3 separate regions of the Homo sapiens genome follow, and regions 1 and 2 are each linked to region 3. Evidence: promoter capture Hi-C in 16 types of primary human blood cells and fetal thymus (Javierre and others, 2016). All regions are on one chromosome and are shown on one strand. Each heading gives the region's core, a stretch centred on a gene start or on the middle of the fragment in contact. The rest is flanking DNA. Distances are from core to core; before and after follow the strand shown.

The links. Contacts are between HindIII fragments. The CHiCAGO score rates a contact against its expected background, and 5 or more counts as called.
Region 1: a fragment that was not itself captured here is called in contact with the fragment with the promoter of TTC23L in region 3 in 2 of 17 cell types (total B cells and endothelial precursors); the score reaches 7.4 in total B cells.
Region 2: a contact is called between a fragment that was not itself captured here and the fragment with the promoter of TTC23L in region 3, in 1 of 17 cell types (total B cells). The highest score is 5.3, in total B cells.

Annotation. Positions count from the first base shown.
Region 1 is chr5:34,502,279-34,505,342 of GRCh38, forward strand. No RefSeq gene overlaps it. Among named protein-coding and RNA genes, the nearest start is that of RAI14-DT, 150 kb to the right of the region's middle. RefSeq lists an enhancer at 1-926. The HindIII fragment of the contact is 1,380 bases long and covers 814-2,193 here.
Region 2 is chr5:34,576,035-34,579,204 of GRCh38, forward strand. No RefSeq gene overlaps it. Among named protein-coding and RNA genes, the nearest start is that of RAI14-DT, 79 kb to the right of the region's middle. The HindIII fragment of the contact is 1,299 bases long and covers 1,209-2,507 here.
Region 3 is chr5:34,837,234-34,840,458 of GRCh38, forward strand. It overlaps TTC23L (tetratricopeptide repeat domain 23 like), which reads left to right and starts at 1,931. Exons shown (of 11, transcript NM_144725.4): 1 at 1,931-2,026. TTC23L-AS1 (TTC23L antisense RNA 1) reads right to left here and starts at 2,099. Exons shown (of 2, transcript NR_183259.1): 1 at 1,950-2,099; 2 at 314-1,784. RefSeq lists an enhancer at 2,221-2,330. The HindIII fragment of the contact is 6,317 bases long and covers 1-3,225 here.

The DNA of each region.
Region 1 (3,064 bases), core at 254-2,753, 340 kb before region 3:
GAGGATGTGAGGAGAGTCTAATAAAGAAACAAATTACAGAGATGGGAACTGGCTGTTGGGAACCCACAGAAAATGGTGCCGTGTGCTGGGACTAAAAGCAGCAAAACCGTGTTGCCACCCCGTGGTCTTAAGAGGAAGAAAGGAGGAGCTCCAAGGAAAAACACAGCAGACCCATCGCTGGGAATCAGGTCAGTGTGTGTCCCATCCTCACTCCCCTCCTTCTCTCCACCTCTTAGCCATGCTCACAGCCAGAAGCTAGAGTGCGAGGCAGCCTGTTGTGCATCACACAGACAACAGCTGGGGACACTGCGAAGGTGGGAAGGGTGGAGAGTAAATCCAAAGAGGGAAACGGAAGGAATCCAGCATGGGTGATTAGGGCTACCCACTGCCCCTAACCCAAGGACCGTCATGGTGCCAGTGACTGAGTTACTGCTTCTCACCTTCACACCCACTCAACTGTTCTCTGCTGTATAATGCTGGGGCTGGGCTTCTGCTTTGCCAACTGACTTCCTCTCGGCTTCTGCCAACATGGATTCTAGAAGAAAACTGGAAGCGTGGGAAGGAAGGAGAGATTTGCTCCTTCCCACTTGCTTTTTGTGGGTTTCCTGTTTGCCTCCAGGTCCCACCAGCCTCACCTTAGGCCCGCATCTTTCTCCAGCAGAGGCAGTTCATTCCAGTAGCAGCAGTTGAATCCGGTGTGCAGTTTTCCCAGCACGCACAGAACTAGCTTCATTGTGCCTTCTTGGAGACCCCAGCAGCAGCCAACCAACACCCACTCCTCAGCCAGTCACAGCCCCGTGGAGCCCCACTCCAAGCTTGGGGACAGCAGCAGCAGCTGAATGGCAGCCTCCTTCTCAGATGTCTGCATCTCTGCTCTATGGGAGCCCTCACAAGTTTCAATAATGTCATCCTCTTCTCTTTGTTTCCCCAGCCCCAGGAACGATAGGTTCTTTCTGCTGTGGCATTGCCGCAATTACTTGGTGTTCTCTTTGGGGCACAAAATGAAAGAATCCTGGGTCTCTGAATCGTGATACAGAGGAAAGCTACCCACCAACCCAGGACACATTTACCGAACTGTTATATGAGCAAGAAAGACATTTTGATTGTGTAAAATCACCAAAATATGGATCCTATTTTTTACAACAATGAACTGCACCTATTATGCCTGAAGAACATTTTAAAACATGTTTCTAGACTCCATCCAAAACCAGAATCTTCCAGCACTGTCTAGTAATCTATCATTTTAAAATGTTATTCTTCCTGGTTTGGAAACCACAGTCTAAATTGCCCTGAGCGTATACTTATTAACATTCACCAGGTAGCAACTACCCAAAGCATAGTTGTGGTACTTAGAAGGAATTCATCTATAGCTCAAGAATTAACTTCGTAGTTTTTAACTGCTCTTTTTTTTAGAAATGTCACAAAAAGACTGAGTTCAGAGAAGATCAGCATGAAGTGAGCTGTGGAAGTTTTGCTATTCCCAAAAGAAAAGGGCTTTCAGATATCCTGATTGTCTGCCAGCATTGACTGCCTCTGAAAAATCAGTGTCTTTGCCAACTATGTGACAGACACTGGGCAGATTTACAGGATGAGAGACAATTGCTGGGGCTCCTTTCTATTCTGTTAAAAAGCCCTGACCCAGAGAACTCAGGACTTTCTGGCGCAAAATGGTCTGATACAGATTTTGTTGCTGTCTCAGATTCACGCACTTGCTTTGGTTCGTATGGCTATTTTCAGGTGACAGCAGTAATTAAGGCATGTACTTGGTGATAGGCATCTTCTTGCATGGGTCACCCCACAGGGTTTGATTCCCAGGCCAACTGGCAAGATTTCTGAAAGCAAGTGACAGCTTGTAAGAGGGGTGAAGGAAAAGGCAGAGCTGGCCGGGTGGCTGTGTCCTATGACAAAGGATTACAGTTAATGGTGCTGAGGTCTGGCAAGCACCACGACCCTGCCTGGCTCCCAAGCTGCTCTGTCTAAATGATCATTGTTGATTATGTGTCTATACCTAGGCAAGAGAGTGGGACAGCATGACAGAAAGCAGCTTCTTGACAGGCTCCAGAAAATTTCCTTTATAAGGGCTTTACCTTTAATAGAGAACTCGAGAGGTCAAAAATGTTATATTAATACTTTGTCTTCAGACAGGCTGCCCATGTAAACAGTTCATGCTGCTAGACAAAACGAGTCTTAGGAAGCTTAAGGGCATGTTTCCACAGCAGCCTGGTATGCCTAAATTAGCAGTAATTATGTCTAAAGAGAGAAGCATAGTTTAAAAGAATTATGGCTATGACTTTTGGCACATGGAATGGAATGGAATCAAATCTTTTTTTGTTTTTTAGTTTCTTTCTTTCTTTCTTTCTTTCTTTCTTTCTTTCTTTCTTTCTTTCTTTCTTTCTTTCTTTCTTTCTTTCTTTCTTTTGAGACAGGGTCTTGCTGTGTTGTCCAGGCTGGTGTTGAACTGCTGGCATCAAACAATCTTACTGCCTCAGCCTCACAAAGTATGGATTGCAGGCATGAACTACCACACCCAGCCAATTTTGGAGTCAAATCTAAAAATCTTTGGGTATTTCAAAACCCACAAAGGTTTCTAGTTTATTGACAAAAGCACTTAGAGCCTGGCCTAAGACAGACAAGGATTATTTGAAATGTAAAACCACTCTTGAGACCCCAAGTAGGAAACAGGCAGTGAATGCAGCTAAGCCACCAAAAATGACCTGTTTTACAATGCCCCTGTAGAAATGAGCAAGGGAGATGATGAGAACAAAAGGATCTTCCAAAAAGCAGAATCAGAAAAATAGATTAGAGAACTATTCCCAGGGAGCAGAACCTGGGCTGAATCAAGAAATGTTACCTCTTTCCAGAGCAAGGAAACTTGGTAACATTGACCTAGGAGGTTTCAGAATTGCTATGGATCAGTAAATGCATTGCACCTCACATCTTTCCCCTGTTGAAGGGGAGTAATTATCCTGTCTCTGGTTTACCTTGAATTTCTGGTGTATGTGGGGCAATTAATTAGACTTTTTAGTTCATAGATCTTTTTATCCTACAATTTGAGATATTCCCT
Region 2 (3,170 bases), core at 608-3,107, 260 kb before region 3:
TCAGATATTTTCATATCAAATAATAATTGTTGCAGATACCTTGAAATAGCATTTACTAATAGCACTACTTCTAAATTAAAATAATCAATAGAACTGCCACTAGGTCTTATTTAATGCATTAGGAAAAAAAGCACATACATTATTATATCACAAATGTGTACTTTAAGCATTTTGATAACTGTATTTTAATATTACTACAGTCTGCTGTGGAATTCTATGAATTTTATTTTATGCATTTTAAAATATTCCTCTGAGAAAGGTTCCACTGGCTTCACCAGGCTGCTGGGGGTTCCCATGGCATGAATAAAGTTAAAAACCCTGGAGCAAGGGGCCCAATTCCTGGCCCTCCTGCTGATCAATAGCACACCCTTCTTCTGTCATCCTCATCTTCCACTCTTTTTTGTCCTTCTAGTTACCCCCACCTCCTTCCCAGCCCTAGGCACTGCGTTGCATTTCATTTCTGATAACTCTTCCTAAAGTATGAACTAAAAGCATAAGGCTGGGCTCTCATGCCTGTAATCTCAGCACTTTGGGAGGTGGAGGTGGGAGGATTACTTCAGCCCAGGAGTTCAAGACCAGCCTGGGCAACATAGGGAGATGCTCATTGCTACGAATAATTTTTTTAAAAAATCAGCCAGGTGTGGCAGCATACATCTGTGGTCCCAACTATTCAGGAGGCTGAGGCAGGAGAATCGCTTGAACCTGGGAGACAGAGGTTGCAGTGAACCAAGATCACACCGATGCACTCCAGCCTGGGCAACAGAAGCAAAACTCCGTCTCAAAAAAAAAAAAGCCACTTACACTTATATGTCCTATGGTTGCATAGGCACCCCTGATTCCCTTCTCCCATAAGAGCTTGTGGGGGCCTCCCACTCCCTGCTCACTGTGAGAAGCGCATCGCCCTGCCAGAGGCCCCTGTGCCACCATGGAGCTTCAGCGGGGCGGGTTCACCGTGGTGCATTACAGAGTTTTCCTAAAATGACACCCTCCATCCTGTGGTTGATACTGTGGTTTGGAGATTTTTAATGAGCCCATAAACTATCTTTATAGTTGTCCTTGTTTGTTTTTAAAACATTGGAGTTATCAGCAGGATCCTGAGTCTCATTTCACTCTTCAAGCAGATTCTATTTTTGGCTTGGCAAACTTTGAGAGTGGAAGCCTTTTCCACGAAGAAGAAATGGAGCCAAAAAGAAATGGCTTCCTAAAAAAGCTTCATGTGCTTCTGGAAGAAAAATGATGTAGGAGGTGGAAGTCCAACCTAGAAATAGAACAGAGGCCAGAGGCAGGAGTCCTCCTCATGGGAGCATGACCTGTGGTAGCTCTGGGCTGGGCCTGCAGAAGGCGCCATGCCTGGTGAATGCCCTGCTCCCGCCATCTTGAGATGAGATGCTTCTCAAGTGTGGAAGAATCAGTTCTGCATTTTCATTTTGTACTGGACCCCACAGATTATGTAGCTGGTGCTGGCCAGCTGGGCTGTGTTGTGAGTAATACCTCCTTGTGTTCTCAGAGGATAAGAAGGGAGCTCAGTGGGGGGAAATGGCACCTAAGTTGTAAGGGTGCGTGAAGGCTTATTTTAAACCTCAACTCGACTGAAACATGCGGTGTCCAGATTAAATATTATTTCTGGGTGTGTCTGTGAGGGTGTCTCTGGATGAGATTAGCATTGAATCAGTGGACTGAGTAAAGCAGACCGCCCTCCCCAGTATGGGAAGACATCCTCCAGTCTATTGAAGGTCTAAGTAGAAAGCGAAGGTGCTGGAAGAGGGTATTTGCTCTCTCTGCTTGACTGCTTGAATGGGAATGTTAATCTTCTCCTGCCCTTGACTGGGACATGTACCATCAGCCCTCTGGCTCTCAGAACTTGACCACCAGCTTTCCCGGGTCTCCAGCTTTAAGATGACAGACCGTGGGACTTCTCAGCCTCCACAATTGTGTGAGCCGATGCTTCAAAATGAATCATATACATTAGATTTTATTTTATTTTTTTTTGAGATGGAGTCTGGCTCAGTCACCCAGGCTGGAGTGCAATGGCGCAATCTCAGCTCACCACAACTCCGTCTCCCGGATTCAGGCGATTCTTCTGCCTCAGCCTCGCAAGTAGCTGGGATTACAGGCACCTGCCACCACACCCAGCTAATTTTTTGTGTTTTCAGTAGAGATGGGGTTTCCCCATGTTGGCCAGGCTGGTCTTGAACTCCTGACCTCAGGTGATCTGCCCACCTCGTCCTCCCAAAGTATTGGGATTACAGGCGTGAGCCACCGCACGCAGGTTCCATTTTAAACTGATTGGATCTCCCCTGGGAGAGCAAATCTGACCTAGAGCAAAGGCCTTGTTCAGCCTGGGGTGTCCTGTTGGGTCCAAGCATTCATGAAGCTACATCTTTCAGACCCTTAGGTCTCAGGAGCCTCCTTAGAGAACCCAGAATTAGAGTGTGCCCATGAACTGTATTCATTTGCTACCACTGCTATAACAAAGTACCATAAACTTGGTGGCTTAAAACAACACAAGCTTACTCTCTTACAATTCTGGATACCAGAAGTCTGAACTCATCCTTATAGGCCTAAAATCAAGGGATCTGGAGGCCCCAGGAGAGAACCTGTTTCTTGCCCCTTCCAGCTTCTCATGGGTGCCAAGAATCCTCGGCTCATGACCTCATTACTCCCATCTCTGCCTCTGTGGTCATTTTGTCTCCTCATCTGTGTTAAAGCTCCATCTGCCTCCCTCTTATAAAGACACTGACAACCACATTTGAGGCCCACCAGGAAAATCTCTCCATCCCAAGGTCCTTAACTTAGTTGTATCTGCAGAGTCCCCCTTGCCACATAAGGTAACATTCACAAGTTCCAGGGATTCAAGCATGCATGTCTTCGGTGGCCATCACTCAGGCTACCATAGGAGCTGTTGTGAAAGTTTGTGCTCAGCCAAGAAGCCCAGTGTCTTCCTGCAGCCCCAGGCCACTCCAGCACTTCCCTCACTGCTCTCCACTCTGGGCCTGAACTTCCAGAAGGCTCCCTGAAGCAGATCCACACCTCTGCAGCACCACTTCCCCAACCTTACCAAAGTGTGCCTGTGAACAGATGCTGCAAGAGGAGAAAGGAGAGGGGGAGGAAGGAGAAGGAGAAAGGGTAAAGGGAGGGAGGGTCACTCCAACCTTGCCTGCTGGTTAATG
Region 3 (3,225 bases), core at 681-3,180:
GAGTCCTCAAAGTTCTGGCTGGACGGTGGCTCACACCTGTAATCCCGGCACTTTGGGAGGCTGAGGCAGGCAGATCACCTGAGGTCAGGAGTTCGAGACTAGCCTGGCCAACACAGTGAAACCCTGTCTCTACTAAAAATACAAAAACTAGACAGACAGTAGTGGCACACATCTGTAATCCCAGCTACTCGGGAGGCTGAGGCAGCAGAATTGCTTGAACCCGGGAGGCGGAGGTTGCACTGAGCCAAGATCACACCACTGCACTCCAACCTGGGCCACAGAGTGAGACTCTGTCTCAAAAAAAGAAAAAAAATAGTCGCCAAAGTTATTTTATTTTGATTTATAATTTTTACAGATGCAGGCAACATGCTTCCGGTCAGAGCTAATGAAATGGAGGCCGAATTAGAGCGTTGGCTTTAGGAATGGGAATTCAGTGCCTGTTCTGGTTCTTCTCTCCACAATTATCAGCAAAAGCAAAGGTTTAGAAAAGAGACATTACCTTTAATATACTTAGAAACAATCTCACAGCCATTTCCTAGAATGAAAGAACATTAAAACCTTTCAATTTGATGACCAACTTAACAAGGGGTAAAAGAAATAAATGTTGGAGAACAGGAAACAGGTTCTTCCTTTTTACTCCCATACATGTTAAATACTGTTCATAGAGTCACAAAAATCGTTTACCCCTTACAGAAACCTGGAACCAGAAGGCGCTTCAGAAAGCAAGTGGTACAAAAACTTTCACCGTATAGGCAAGAAAATTGGGACCCACTGGCCGTGACTCGGCCCAGGCTACAGAGTCAAAACCAGAACCTTGACATTCTGAAATCAGGTTCATTGCTGTCATCATTGTTCCATGCTGAGAGTTTTCTTAGGAAAAAGAATAAAGTGGGGGAATCTTTCCAAAATTGTGACTATGGAGCTCGAAAGTACAGATTTAAATCTTGAGTTAACAGACCATACAGGTTTTACTTAAGAGATATTCAAGCAAACTCATTTAAATAACTCCTCCAACCTAACTCCAAAAAGGCTTTCTTGGCAGTCTTGGATCAATGGCAATTAAACTTCCAGCCTAGAGCTGGAAATAACAAACACCAAACGTAAACACCATCTTTCACATTCTCAATGTTCTCCTTGTCTCTCTACCTAGTCTGCTCTTTTCTGAAAACAACTGGGACACATTCACTCCAACTTGACTTGCCATAGGCCTAGTCTATGATAGGGTTCATAATAACATCCTTCAACATAGCGTTGCAAGAGCTGGCGCTGTTTCTTTGGGTATGGCCACAATTGCCTCTGCACCTTGTGTGTATTACACACACTGTATTCCATGCCAACGAAAGGGTAAGATATGGCTGCATTATTTAGGGCTAAGTGCTAAATAAATAATGAACAGCTAACCATTAGCAGATCTAGTAGTCGATTTCTTACCCTACTCTCTTCCTGCAATCAGCTTTCCTAACCATGCCTAGCTCCAATCTTACTGGGTAACACAGACGGTGCCAGCACAGTCAACAGCCATATCTAAGCCTTTCCTCTGGGGTCCATAAAAACAAAACTCCCGAGGAGCTGTGGGGGTGCACCGTGGCCAGGATCGTCGCCGAATACAGCCCGCACACGTCGCAGCTTTAAATAAGTAGGGCCGTGGGGCCCGGCGCTCCCTTCCATCCTTGGACGGAATGTATCTTCTCTTCCTACGCCTTCACCTCCGAGGGGTAAGGTCTCGTGAGATACAATATGCAGAGGCCAGTTTTGGGGCGAGCCGGAGGCCGGGCGCGTCTAACCTGCGGGGAAGGGAAAGCGGAGGGTAAGGCAAGGGCTGCTGTAGGCGCCAGACAACAGGGACTCTCCGAACCGGAAGTGCCCCGCGTCGCCATGGCTACAGGCGCTCCCAGCAGAACCCGTAGCGTTCCGTTCCCATGGCAACGGTATTGTCTCCTTGGCCGGACCTGGGCTGCGGAAGGTAACTGGGGACGTCGCAGGCTGTGCAGCTTTCGCGAGGCACCGCTTTGGCGCCCGGACCGAGGTGCGCCAGGGTCAGGAGGCCGACGCAGCGGGAGGAAGCCGCGCCGTCGGGCTCAGGGAGCTGGGAGGCTGGTTCCGGGGCGTGGTTTCTCCGCCTTGAGCCAGGTGCCCTTTGCGCACTCGCGCGTTCTCTTAGAGCCTCCGCGGCAGAGAGGCTCTCAGAGCTCGACCTGCGGCGTCAGGGCTTACAGACTTGCCGCAGAACCACAGCGGGAAAAGAGGAGCGATTCGTCCTTGAGGGGCTCAGGGCCGTGCGGAACGTCATAGGAACAGAGTCCGGGAGTTTGAGAGATCAGAACTCTTTGCTGTGGGCATAGTGTTTAAAGTGGAGGTTAAAAAGAGAAATTAGTGACTCTCCCTTTCTGATTTTCGGATAATGGATGCTCTGGAGCCTGGGTCAGAAAGCCACTCAGGGCTCGGTGGGAATTAGTGATTCTGGAGGGTGAAAGGAGAGGCGACTTGGTGGATGTTAACATTCAATAAGTAACTGCGTTCGATTTGGGTTTGATTTAAGCGACTGGCATAGCCTTCCTTGAGAGTTGAATTTCACAAATACTGTATTTAGAAATCACATTTTTCGTTTTGTGCTTCCGAGGTTTCTCCTATCATCTAACAGCAACAACTAAAACAGACACATGAATTTCATTTTATTGTTTTATTTTATTTTGAGACGGAGTCTCGCTCTGTCGCCCAGGCTGGAGTGCAGTGGCGCGATCTCCGCCTCCCGGGTTCAAGCGATTCTCCTGCCTCAGCCTCCCGAGTAGCTGGAACTACAGGCGTGCACCACCACAGCCGACTATATTTTGTATTTTTAGTAGAGACGGGGTTTCACCCTGTTGGCCAGGCTGGTCTCGAACTCCTGAACTCGGGTGATCCACCCGCCTCGGCTTCCCACAGTGCTGGGATTACAGGCGTGAGCCTCTGTACCCGCCTCGTGACCCCTGTACTAGAATCTGCTATTAATTAGTGAAATGACCCCGGGGGGGGGGGGGAAAGCAGAATTAACCAATACACTGGCTGTGCTTCGTTTACCACTGAGAGTTGGTTGCTTTGCTTAAATCCAACACGCCGTCAGACCTGCAAAAACAATATCTGAGTTAAGTAGGTGACCATAGTTTTGATGACCCAGGAACTGTAAATGTGCTTGCTTTGAGACATAAAGGCCAGGGATTTTGGAGAAGTAGGGTGGAGTTGAAATTA